Linked DNA regions of Homo sapiens: region 1 is linked to region 2. The links are contacts of gene promoters, found by promoter capture Hi-C in human tissues and cell types (Jung and others, 2019). All regions are on one chromosome and are shown on one strand. Each heading gives the region's core, a stretch centred on a gene start or on the middle of the fragment in contact. The rest is flanking DNA. Distances are from core to core; before and after follow the strand shown.

Evidence for each region. Contacts are between HindIII fragments. The study calls those that stand out against the background at their distance.
Region 1: a fragment that was not itself captured here is called in contact with the fragment with the promoter of KLRC3 in region 2 in 1 of the 25 tissues and cell types used here (hippocampus).

Annotation. Positions count from the first base shown.
Region 1 is chr12:10,365,004-10,371,727 of GRCh38, forward strand. The region is part of intron 1 of KLRK1-AS1 (KLRK1 antisense RNA 1); the gene reads left to right. Among named protein-coding and RNA genes, the nearest start is that of KLRK1-AS1, 4.6 kb to the left of the region's middle. The HindIII fragment of the contact is 3,116 bases long and covers 151-3,266 here.
Region 2 is chr12:10,419,001-10,425,823 of GRCh38, forward strand. KLRC3 (killer cell lectin like receptor C3) reads right to left here and starts at 1,595. Exons shown (of 7, transcript NM_002261.3): 1 at 1,364-1,595; 2 at 866-964; 3 at 44-88. The coding sequence starts at 1,550. The HindIII fragment of the contact is 7,239 bases long and covers 1-5,550 here.

The DNA of each region.
Region 1 (6,724 bases), core at 459-2,958, 54 kb before region 2:
GAATGCTCGCAGCTCACGCCGAGATAAACCAACTGTGCTGGCAGCTACGGAGTTAAAGGGAAAGTCACAGAGGCTTCTAGCACCACCGATCCAAAAGTGAAAGTGAAAGTCAGCTGCCCTGGAAGCTATGCAGACCAAAAAAAAAAAAGAGTCTCAGGAAAGAGAAAACCAGTTTTGCAAGAATCACAGGATGGAATAGAGATCCTTCCTACCTATATTCCAATCTATCCCCCCTTACCAAGGCTAATTGCCCCTAAGGAGGTAAGTTCAAACAGATACATGCTCCCACTCTCACCTGAGAAGGAGAAATCGGAGCTCCAGGAAGTTAAAACGAAAGGCTCAAAAAGGTAGGCAGGCCGTCTCAGGTCAAGTCATGCCCAAGTTATGCTTCTGCCTCTTAAGAGGACAAGCAGACCCCCACTAGGACCCAGACGATGCAGTCCAGCTTCAGCACCTACAAAAGTGCCGAGAAGCACTTTTACAAAGGCTAAAGGATGTTAAAAGGAAAAGGCAACCAATATAAAAAAATCTCAGAAGTGCTCCATGGTGCAGATAAAAGCACCAGCCAGTTTTATAGGCATTTTGCTTGTACACTCTGTTTAACCCCGAGGCTGCTGAAAATCAGTGAATAGTAAATACGGCATTTGTAAGGCAGGCCCAAGGAGATATCAGGCATAAATTGCAGAAGTTAGAAGCTCCGTAGGTGTGAATGCTACTCAGCTTATTAAAGTGGCTACCAAGGTGTACATTAACTGAGACCAGGAGGCAAAGAAGAAAGCTGATTGGAGGCTTAATAAAGGCTTATTTACAAGCAGCAGCCCTTATGGGAAGAGAGGCTGGCTTTGCAAGGAGGCATAGATGCGGGTGTGAATGCAGTTGTGGAAAAGGCTAGTCTGGACAGCAATTTGAAAGCCAGCCAAGGCTAGAGAGAGATTAATGTACATGGTGCAAAAGAAAAGGACACTAGAAGGATAAATGTCAAAAGAATAAGGAGAATGGTCAAGGCCATGGTATGAAAAAACCACTGGCCAAGGGCTACTGCACCCAGGAGAAACCCAAGACTGCTGTGAAAGGCAGGATATAAAGGGTCAGAAAAAAGCTCAGATCTGCTCGAAAAGTGTCCAGTACTTAAGCTTTTACATAAGCCAAGAGGAAAGATGGCTTAGTAGTGAACAAAAGCAGGCTGTTTGTGCACTTCCTACTCCAACCACCTGGCGTCGAATAACAGAGTTCCTAAGGGCAGCAAAGTTCTTCCGCATTTAGATCCCAAATTTCTTGCTTGTGGCTAAGCCATTATACAAAGCCACAAAGAGGAGGAAAGAAGGACTCCTCCTCTAGGAGGCCAACCAGAAGAAGGCTTTTCAAAAAATCAAAGAAGCCTTGACTCAGATCCCAGCTTTAGGACTGCCAGATCTAACTAACTAAGCTTATCTTCTTGAATGTCCACAAGTGAAAGGGAGGCCATAAAGATTCTAACTCAAGCCATAAGGTCATGGCATTGCCCAGTGACACACTTATCCAGGCAGTTAGATTCTGTGGCACTTGGATGGCCTCCTTGTTTTAAAGCACTAGCTGCTACTGCCCTACTGGCACAAGAAGCTAATAAACTGACTTTAGAGATGGTGAATACCCTAAACCCGGCTACCTTGCTCCTCATCGAGTCAGTGCCAGGAGACCCCCTTCGTTGCTGTGTAAATGTGATAGATGAAGTGTTCTTAAGCCAGAGAGATTTGACAGATACATCCCTCAGGGACCTGGACATTGAATATTTTACTAATGGAAGCAGTTTCATACTAAACGGAGTCCGCCAAGCTGGGTATGCAGTGGTGACTTTGGATTCAGTAGTAGAGGTGCAGTCTTTGCCTACAAAAACTTCTGCTTAGAAAGCAGAACTAATAGCTCTGACAAGAGCTCTCTGGCTAGCCAAAGACCAAAAGACAAATATTTACACATATTCCAGATATGTTTCTGCCACTTTGCATGTTCATGAGACTATTTACAAAGAAAAAATAATTTTAACTGCTGAAAGTAAAGAAATAAAGTATAAGGAAGAAATTCTAGAGCTCTTAAATGCTGTATAGGCCCCAAAAGGTGGCAGTGATGTACTGCAAGGGGCACCAAAAAGGAAGAATACTAAAGGCTAAAAAAATAAAATAAAATAAGAAAACAGACAAAGAGGCAAAGCAGGCTGCAATGACAACTCCACCTTTTAAAGAGGAAGCCTTAGCTATGCCTCTCCTCCCAGAGATTCCTCTCCTGGATATCCCAAGCTACACTCCAAATGAAAGGGCTTATTTTGCCCAGAAAAATAAAAACTACATTAAAAGGAGATGGTAAATATTATCCAATGGGAGGCTAGCCATACCTGAAATGGTGGCCCCCAGATTTTTAAAAGAGTTCCACCAAGGAACTCACATGGAAAAAAATACAACAACAGAAATGAGGAATGCTATATATCAAAATAGATTGGCTTTAGATTACCTCTTAGCCTCAGGAGGAGGAGTATGTGGAAAATTTAATTTAACCAACTGTTGCCTAGAAATCGATGATAATGGTTGAGCTGTCATGGAAATCACCGCTAGAATGCACACATTGGCCCATATTCCAGTTCAGACTTGGTCTGGGTGGTCCCCGGATTCCTTGTTTGGAGGATGGTTCTCAGCCTTTAGAGGATTCAAAAGCCTCATTGGTGGGTTCTTGGTTATTCTTGGCATCTGCCTCATCCTCCCTTGCCTTTTACCCCTGTTTATTAGAAGTATTCAGTCAACTATGGAGGCAATAGTGGCCTGATACACTACCATGCAGATGATGGCATTAACCAGATATCAGTCGCTGCTGGTAGAAGCAGCAGCTCAGCTCCACGAAGACGTGGCAAATAGTGGTGCTTTCTGTTAACACATTTGTTATAAAAAGCACCAAAGGGGGGAATGGAACAGGAATTAAAAGAAATTAAAGAATGTGTAAGCAAAAACTCAGTTGTATGTAAGAAAACCCAATTCCCCCTGAGGAAGAGAAAGAACTGGAGTCCTTTAAAAATTAACTGCCTGTTTTTCCGTGGCTAGTGAGCCTTATCTCTCCCTTTCCCAGGCATTGTGAAGACCCTGTTTCTCTAGCTGTGCAGCTGCAAGGTCACTAGACAGACAAACTCAAGTCATAAAACATGCTTTTCCTTGAAAAGTAAGAAACAATGTAATGTATGTCTCAATTGAATAACTGTCTTTGTTTCTTGCTTCTGTAATATGCTTCCCCCTGCACAAATCTTCCCCCACAGACAAAATACTTAAAAGATAACTTGACTCTTTGTTCAGGGCTCAGTCATTTGGATGTTAATCCAACTGGGCCAGTGCACCTAAATAATAAAAATCCTCCTCAACCCCTTGGTGTTCCTGATTCCTTATCAATCCTGCTACAGGTGGAGAAAAAAGAAAGACCAGCAGAAAAGAAAAAAACTAGGAGAGGAAGTCAGAGGGAAAGAAAGCAAAAACAGCAAGCATAGAGCCAAACAGCCAGGCAGGCACGCCAAGGGGTAAGTCCCTCTCCCCAAAGAGCTTGGGGACTGGTGCCGGGAGGAGAGCAGAGGAGGTGAAAGGGCATAATTCTTGCAATTTGCGGCAGGCATCTGCCAATCCTCTGGGCCGGTGACTGCCTGGGGCCCAGACTACAGCCGGGCAAATCCCACCCACCCAGCCAGAGAAACTAAGTGTAAAAAGAAAGGAAAAAATATAAAAAGGGAAATCAGGAAAAATAAAAAACACAGGAGAAACAGACAGCTGCGTGTGCGTGGGGGTGGGGCCCGTGCCATGGCCCAGCAGGGCTCGCAGCAGGAGCAGGAGAACTTGGGAAAAGAAAGGGAAACAGGATGAGAGAGAGAGAGAGAGAGAGAGAGGAAAATAGAGCGCAAATGAGAGAGAGAGAGAAATAGAGGGAAAGAGTAAGTAAGAGAGAAACTGGAAGAGACAGAAATCAAAGGAAGATACAGAGAGTGAAACTAGAAAAATAGTGAAAAAGGAAGGCAGAAAGTTAAGACATGCTGAAGATTGTCTGTGAAAGTCATAAGAAAAGCTATAAAAGGGAATTTATGCAAAAAATATTGTATAACTGAAAAACAGGCCTCCTGAATGTAAAATTATTAAAAAAAGTTTATGTACAAGGTATGTAAAAAAATACTTTTAATAACAGGATTATAAAGAGGCATAAGAATACAGATTTTTACCTACATTAAAGGCTAAACTTTTTTTCTGTTTTAAAGATTTAAGCAAGTTTTAAAATGTTAATTGTAAAGGAAATTCTGTGTGTTAACATATTGGCTAAAGTTAAAGGGGTATCATCCAGTTTTTCTGTGAACTGGATATTACAATAAAATCACTATAGATTTTTCTTAAAGCACTAACCTGCTCTTTAACAAAAATTATAAAAAGTTAAAGAATCTATAAAAGTCTTACCTTATAGTTAGACATTAAAATTGGATAAATAATGTCTACAAGATTTTATTAAAATTAAGTTGAACATCAATAGCACATTAATATAATGGTAAAATTTAACTTATCTGGTATAAAATCATACAAAAACATTGTCAAATATAAAATGGTGTTTGGCTTTCTTAAGGCCTAAAGGCAACCCGGTAAGTCACAAGGACCCTCATCCCCAAGGCCACAGAGTGCAGGGTGGTGAAGGCCATAAGAAGGCCAAACATTAAGAGGGGGCAGGGCCACAGTGTCTCCTGGGCAGCGCTGAGCAGGAATAGAGCAAGGGGCATAACCATGAGGCCTCAAGCCCCAGGATATGCAGCAGAAATTATATACTTAATCTATCTTCCACTTTCCCTTCCCTTGGAGCTAAAAGTCTTTTAGCACAGGTAGCACCCCTAGAATTTCCAGTACACCAGCACCAGCCTGAAAACCACATCCTTATCAAAAGATAGAAAGAAAAAAAAACTCAAGCCAGCCTGGGAAGAACCCTATTTTATGCTATTAACCACTGAGACTGCCGTCCGCACAGCCAAGAAAAAAATGGTCCCACCATACTCGAGTCAAGAAAACATCTTCCTCTCAGAATCATGGGTTACTGTACTAGGATTAAGCCCTACTAAGTTAAAGTTAAAGAAAGCTTAATTTTCATATACCTTCTATATCGCTTCCTTTCCTTTCCGTATTTTGTTACTAGCTCCGTTGTTATTAATGTAACTAAGTCTGACTCACCTCAGACCATTGCCTTTAACTCTTGCTCTGTCATACCTTGTGGAAATGTAAAATATCAACAACAGCTAGCCTTTTCACACAAATATTTATGTCCCAGCCCTCTAACTGACACAGGTACCCCTAGCAGTCATTGTTGTAATGACCTGCAGCCAAGATGCTGATTTTCTGCTCCTACAGGCTGGCAACCTTGTAGTAAATGGGACCACATCCCTTAAACTACCCAGGAGCAAAGCTGGACTTCCACGAAAAAGGTTTGTGCAAATCTAAAACCCCTCATCTATTTCACTAAAAGGACTACCCCTTCTCACTGTCAGCCTTATCAGTGTAACCCTGTCCTTCTCTTTATCACCACCTCCACCTTAACTAACTCTAGACCTGCCCTTAGTCGCTTCTGTGGTATGGGGATTGACATAAATGGAAAAGACCCCCTAGGTATTTTTAAAATATGGATTTTTCCCCCATCTCCCCCTTCTTCAGTAGCCTCAGTTCTAGATCCCACACCAGTTGCTCCTACATCTAATAAAACTAGGGTGTCTATTGTAAAAATAAGATATCTAAGACAGACCTTAGCCATCAAGACAAAATATCAAGATGCAAATTCCTGGCTGAAATGGATTAAATAATCCATTCACACTTTAAATAAAAGCGATTATTACGCTTGTACACACGGTAGGCCAGAGGCCCAGATTATCTCCTTTCCACTTGGATGGTCTCCTTGTCATCCAGATATGGAGTGTATGGTGGTTCTTTTTCAAAATCCCACTGCTTGGGATAATCCATCATACTGAGCGCTCTCTGCTATTTCCTGAAATTCAACACCCTGCGGGTCAGCCTCCGAGGGCAATCCAGCTTCCACCTCTAAATGCCAAGTTTACTTTGTGCCTCTCATGGCAGGAGGAAAATTTGGCGTTCCTTGAAAGCATAAAAGGATACAAGAAGCCCAAGCCTTTCCAAGAACTTGCCCATCAGTCCATGCTTAGCCATCCCCAAGCAAATGTATAGTGGTACTGTGGAAGACCTTTACTGGACACTCGGCCAAATAACTGGAGCAGTACTTGTGCTCTAATCCAATTGGCTATCCGCTTCACGCTGGCATTTCGTCAATCTAAAAAGGTAAAAACAAAACACCGCAGGCCAAAGGAAACTCCTTGAGTCCTTTAATCCTCAGGTTTACGTAAATGTTATTAAGGTCCGTGAGAAGTGCCAAATAAGTTTAAAGCACAAAAATCAAATAGCTGCAAAATTTAAATCCATGTTGGTCTGGTAGGTAACCATAAATTAAAAAAAAATTTAACTTCAATTCAATTCTCACCTCGTTTGCCCTTACTATTGGTGTACTTATTCTTGTAGACTGTTATATTATGCCCTGCCTTCAAGGTTTTATGCAAAAACTTGTCTCTGCTGCTCTTACAGAGTTAACTCCTAACTATCCTCCACCCTATTGAAAAAAAATTACCTCTCTTAGAAGGACAAAGAATTAAGTCAAAACATATTAAACAAGACTGAGGAGGAATTATGAAATAAAA
Region 2 (6,823 bases), core at 345-2,844:
TATAAATTGTACTAATATCAGAGCATTGAAAATAAAAATGTACCTTTCTGGGTTCTTGCATTCGGGGAAGAATTGTTCTGCTCCAGGACTGTAATAGAAAAATTAAAATGATTTTTATAAAAACTGATATCTAGATAAACCATAATGAGTTTAGTTTCTTACTTTGAAACTTTGTGTGTTATTTAAAATGGGGAGAATCTTTAATAAAATTAACTTTTTCTATAAAAATATATAAAGTAATAGACCTTTGAAATAAACATTTTTAAAGACTTTAGCACAAAACTTCACCATCTCTTGTAGTATTTGATGTAACCACTTTCAAAAATTAGTTTTTCTAAATACTTTTCTTCTATAGCATGCCTTTGAATTATGAAATCAGAAAATATCTTTGTGTGTGTATGTATATACATATATATAGATTACACACAAAAAATAAACACATGTTCTCTACAATGATTTTGTTATTTATGTTGTGAAAAATTCAGAATAACCATATTATTTTGGTTCCAAATTGTACTAATATCAGAACTTTGAAAATAAAAATGTACTTTTCTGGGTTCTTGTATTTGGGGAAGAATTGTTCTGCTCCAGGACTGTAATAGAAAAATTAAAATGATTTTTATAAAAAGTAATATTTAGATAAACCATAATGAGTTTAGTTTCTTACTTTGAAACTTTGTGTGTTATTTAAAATGGGGACAATCTTTAATAAAATTAACTTTTTCTATAAAAATAAATGAAGTAATAGATCTTTGAAAGAAACAGTAAAATAAGAGTTCTATTCTTCAACAGTATGAAATATTTTGAGGCACTTCCAAGCATTAAAGTAAAACGTTCCCTTCTAATCTTTCAAGAATATGCTTACAAGGAATAAGAACTATTGTTTTTAACACAGTGGCCATCAGGACAATGCAAATGATTCCTAGGACCTCGGCAGTGAGCTTTTCTGGAGGTGGCAGTAAACCTGCAGGGAGAGAAATAGAGGCACTGAGAGAGGGGAGATAGAGAGTTGATTAGGATTACATACTAGAGAATTACATACTAGAGAACCCACATGCACAGGGAAACATAATGATAAACTCTGGCCGCTAAATCTACATCTACTCTAGTAATCTTTCTCTCAGAATATACCATTTCATTTTCAGTAAATGTAATGTTCCATGAGTGGATTGCAGATTACAGTTGATTACAGTTGAACAATGCCTGAATAAAATTAGTCTTCTGATTTCATATTAGAATATTAGATCCCATTTATGAACTCTGATTCTCACAAGTGTAAAATATTCCCTAATCTTTCCTCACCCTTCTGCATTCAACTGCACATCCCAGAACAATAACATTGAAGATATATTTAATGTTTTACCTTGGCAGTCATATATTTTATCAATCCCTTGATGATTCAGAGAAGCATTTTGAAGGTTTAATTCTACTTGGAATATTTCCTGTTCGGTTCCTGAAATGGAGCTTTTATTGCCTTTAGGTTTCCTTTGCTGCCACTTTGGGTCCTGGGCCAGACTCACTTCTGAGAAGGTTCCTCTTTGTTTACTCATCTCTGCAGCTGTGTGATGTGAGGGACTGTGCTCTATGATAACTGCACTTAAGAAGCTATAAATGGTGTATATTTTGACAGGATCCCTGGTATAGGCAATGTGCATGTGTTGGGGCTGAGTAATAATGTTTACTTTGCTGTTAACCTAGGTAAAATTCTGCTACTAATTTCCTAAAGCTTTAAACAAAAATCACACGATATAATTGGCCATTTTTTAGATGTATTCTGTATTTGACATAATATTACTAGTGGGAACAATAAAAACATTAAACTTGTGAGAACTAGGAAGTTCATGAAAAAAATTGGTATTAAATTAAGGTTAGATTCTTCAAAAATGTTTAACACCAATAGACTGCATACTTTAACAATTAAAATACTGTATTTAGAAATACACTAATTTTACCATAGTTTTAAGAGTCATTGATGGTTAATGATTGTGTGCCATAAGATAAAATAGTTCTGTCAGCATACAGAGTAACTTCTTATACTAACATACATTGTTAGTGAGTTACATTCATTTATTAAAAGGACCTGAGGTATTGTCAACTGATTATTTTTCTAAATTAGGAAATCAGAAAAATCATTAAAATTTTAAAAATATATCTTGTAAAACATTACATTACTGTATGCATAAATACTATTGAAAACATAATATATTTTTAAATTGCTGCTTTTACACAAGAAATTGGTAATTGATTTAATGACTAAAATAGGAAAACTTAAAATGATAAATAAACGTGTGGGCCGTCTATGGAAGAATAGTGTCCAATCAAACTTTCAGAAAGCTCCTATGATTGTATAAGTCAGTGAGGGTCGCTTTGGTTGTATAAGTAATTGTAATAGTTCAGATAATGTAATTTAATAATCTAGTCAATGAGCTCTGTAGTCAGTGAGACTACAATTAATTCTAGCTTTGCAAGTTGTAATATGTGACCTGTACTAAATTACTTAGTGTCTACTAACCTAGTTTACTAATCTACATTGGGAAAAATAATTTATAAAGTATAATGTATGTAGAAAACTAAACACACAACCTGGCACATATTAGCACTGAATACATAATAGATATTTCAACTATTTTTAACACAATTGCCATTTTATTATTTCTGATTTGCATTAGAGTGTGTTAAAATAACTCATTAATTAGGCGTCTCATGTCAGTGTGGTACATCTTTTTTGCAATGTTTGGTTCAATTGTTTTAAGTCTTCCAATTGTTTATAATTAAGGTCAGATTTGCATTTTATGGAAATGATTTCATCCTTACTTTTATTAAAAATTAAAACTGCTTTCATGAAATCTAGGTGTGTGATTGAGAATTAATGTTTGACATTCACAATTTGATGTATCCATATTAAAAATTTATTTTTAAAGTTTGGTCTAAATATAATATACAATTAAACCAGTAATGATTACAAAATCCAAAATTAATTGTTCATTGTCATGATGGTTATGGGTTTCACTCTAAATTACATGGATTGGCAAACCTATTATTATGTATGCATCTACTTGAGTGATTCTCCAGCGGCAATGATGTGAATACTCTAAGAAATCCTTAAACATAGTTTATATTTTGGCTCGTTTTTCACCTTGAATTATTCACGTGAATAAAGTTCTACCTTGATTTTCGTCTATATCAACTTTACCTCAGGTGCATCACAGCCAGTACTTACAATCTTCTACTAAATGAGATGAGCTAGTAGAGAAACAGGGAGAGGAGCAACACTTACCTACTGTCATCAGAAAGCCACACGCCCTTCAGTGGAGAGGTCAGGTTACCTCTGAAAGACACAAACGTTATCTGTGATCTTCACAGACTGCCCTTTGAAGGGTCAGAGTGAGGCAAGAGTGGAAAAAGTAGATTCCTCACCAATGTGTCACTGCAGATTTGAACAGGAAATTCTCACCCTAGGGCTATTTTGAATCAGTTTGTCTCATCACACACTTTAGAATATAGGAGACTTTGGGTGGCTAGTGTGTCATTTAGTTTGTCCATTTTAAAGTGCCTCTTAGAAATTATTTTTATGGTCAACAAGATGAGGGGAGAGCAGAGATTTGATCCATGCTGGTGATTGTTTCCATCTCAGTCACAAACACCAAAGTTTTGTAACTTTTCAAAAGGATCTTAGGTGGTTGCTTTCTACATTTAGACAAGGTGGCTGAAACTTGACATTATATACTTTTTTATCATATACCCCTATAATATCACTGCTATCATAATAACAAAATTTAAATAATGATTTTATCAATAGGAATTTAATGTACTTGTCACTATTTTGAGAAAATGCTGCATTTTCAACTTAATTGTAACTGACATGCATTCTCAAACTTATCTTCTTGCTTTCTTTGCCTTAGTTCTTAAAATTCCCTCATTCAATTTTTCTTCTTTATATAAGTTAACCAGATTCCTGATTAAAATAAATGTCTCTTGAAAGAATAAAATATTAAACAATACTGAGCTATATCTCTATGCCAGAGACTGAAATAATAAAAAAACTACCTACTATATTGTTCACCGGTTCCTTCTCTAATCATGACTTACTGTCTGCATTTTAATAGAAATATTTGTTGTAAATGACTAAAGCCTAAGTTAAACTATGAAGGGAGGTTAAAGCAATTTTTAAAACATCACCTACTTAAAAATGGGGAGGCCAGAAAATGGAGATTTTTTAAAACACAAGTAAAATGATACATGAATGTCCGGGCATGGTAGCTCATGTCAGTAATCCCAGCACTCCAGGATCACTTGAGCTCAGGAGTTTGAGGTTAGCATGATACACAGGATGAAACCCCATCTCTTAAAAAAAAAAAAAAAAAAAAAAAAAATATATATATATATATATATATATATGAATTAGCCGAGGATGCTGGTGTTTGCTTGTAGTCCCATCTGCTCTGGAGGCTGAGGTGAGAGGATCGCTTGAGCCCTGGGGGTCAAGGCTGCAGTGAACTGTTAGTGTCACTGCACTGTAGCCTGGGCAACAGAGCCAGACCTTGTCTCAAAAACAAATAAACAAAAACTTTTAAAAAATAAATGGTATACGAACATCAGGGAAAAAACTATAAATTATCTAGTTGTATTAAATAAAAATCTTTTCATCATTTATTTTCTATCAAGAAAAGGGGGAATGTTTATGCATAATTCTATTGCCCAGGCTGGAGTGCAGTGGTGCCATCTCGGCTCACTGCAACCTCTGCCTCCTGGGCTCAAGCGATTCTCCTGCCTCAGCCTCCTGAGTAGCTGGGATTACAGGCGTGTGCCACCAGGCCCAGCTAATTTTTTTTGTATTTTTAGTAGAGACGAGGTTTCACCGTGTTAGCCAGGATGGTCTTGATCTCCTGACCTCGTTATCCGTCTGCCTCGGCCTTCCAATGTGCTGGGATTACAGGCGTGAGCCACTGTGCCCGGCTATTCTCTAAAATCTAAAAAGTTGGAATTTAAACCCATATTTATTTCTTTGCAATGAGAATTATTATTTGCCCTTCCATCAGAATGGCTAATGGTGGCTAGGTATATATGTTTTTCTGTAAAATATATTGTAATATATTTTCACAAAATTAATTAATAATGTCATATGCATATATGCTTGTGTTCATATTGTATCTTTTTCTATTACAAGTATATTTATATTTACATTTTATTACATTTTCATAAACTAGGTTACTTTTTCTATTAGTCACGTTATGGAACTAAAACAATAAAATCATTCACTAAAGATGCCACATAATGTATCATTCACTGATGTTTTCTATTTAAGTCTGAAGTGCTGATGTCTACTATTGCTACAAACATCCACTTGGTGTTTTCCATTAGTGTTATACCATTATTGTTTGCATAATGACAGGGATACCTCTGAGGAATATGTCTTTAGGCAATTTCATCCCTGTGTCAACATCAAAGAGTTTATTTACACAAACCTAGATGGTACAGCTACTACACTCCTGTGTTATATGGGATAGGCTATTGCTCCAAGGATACAAACCTGTACAATATGTTACTGTTGTGAATAATGCAAGCAGTGACCAGAATGGTAATTTTTGTTTATCTAATTATATATAAACCAAAAAAACAGTAAAATATGGTTTAAAAAAAGGTTAAAATGGCATCCTTTTATAGGGCACTTACTACGAATGAAGACTGCAGAAATGGAATTTTCCCTGGGTGAGTCAGTGAGTAAGTAGCAAGTGAAAGTCAAGGCCTAGGATATTACAGCACACTACTGTAGGATTTATACACTGTACACTAGGGTACACTATATTTATGCAGCACTTTTTTTCTTGAGCTAATAATAAATTAACTTTACTGCACCTTTGTTGGTTTCTAAATTTTTCATATTTTAAAAATCTTCTGCCTCTTTTTAAATACACTTTATTTAAAAACACAAATTGCACAGTCTTAACAACTATATTCTTTTTATGAGCTTTTTTCTATATTTCATTTTAATTTTTTTCTTTTTAAACTTTTTTTAAAAACGAAGACACGAAAACATACATTAGCCTAAGCCTACGCAGTGTCAGCAAGATCAATCTCACTGTCATCCCCTCCACATCTTGTCCCACTGGAAGGTTCAGGCAATAACACACGTGCAGCTGTCCTCTCCTATGGTAACAGTGCCTTCTTCTGGAATTCCTCCTGAGGGACCTGCCCAAGGTTGTTTTTCAGGTAACTGTTTTTATAGAAGTAGAAGGAGTACACTCTAAAATAATAATTAAAAGTATACTACAGTAAATACATAAACCAATAACATTGTCATTTATTATCATTATCAAATATTATGTAGTGTATGTAATTGTTTGTGCTATACTTTTATTCCACTGGCAGCAAGGTAATTTACACCAGCATCACCACAGACATGTGAATAATACACTGTACTGAAACTATTGCTATGACGTCACTAAGTCATAGGAAATTTCCAGCTCCGTTATAATCTAGTGGGACCACTATCTATGTGCAGTCAGTCATTGACCAAAACATCATTTTGTGGCACGTGACTGTATATCATGTCCTTTGTTAATCGAAACAATACAGATTTCTACTGTTTGGGCATTTACTGTGAATGAAGTTTATGCTTATACAAAGGCACAATAAATATATAAAAACAAAACAAAAATTACACAAGATAACTGGAGTACTTAGAATTTATATGATGTGTGTGTGTGTGTATATATGTTTATGTGACGTAAATACACACACACACACACACAGAACTTACGATGATTAATATTAGGTGTCAGCCGGATTGGATTGAAGGATGCCTAGATAGCTGGTAAAGTGT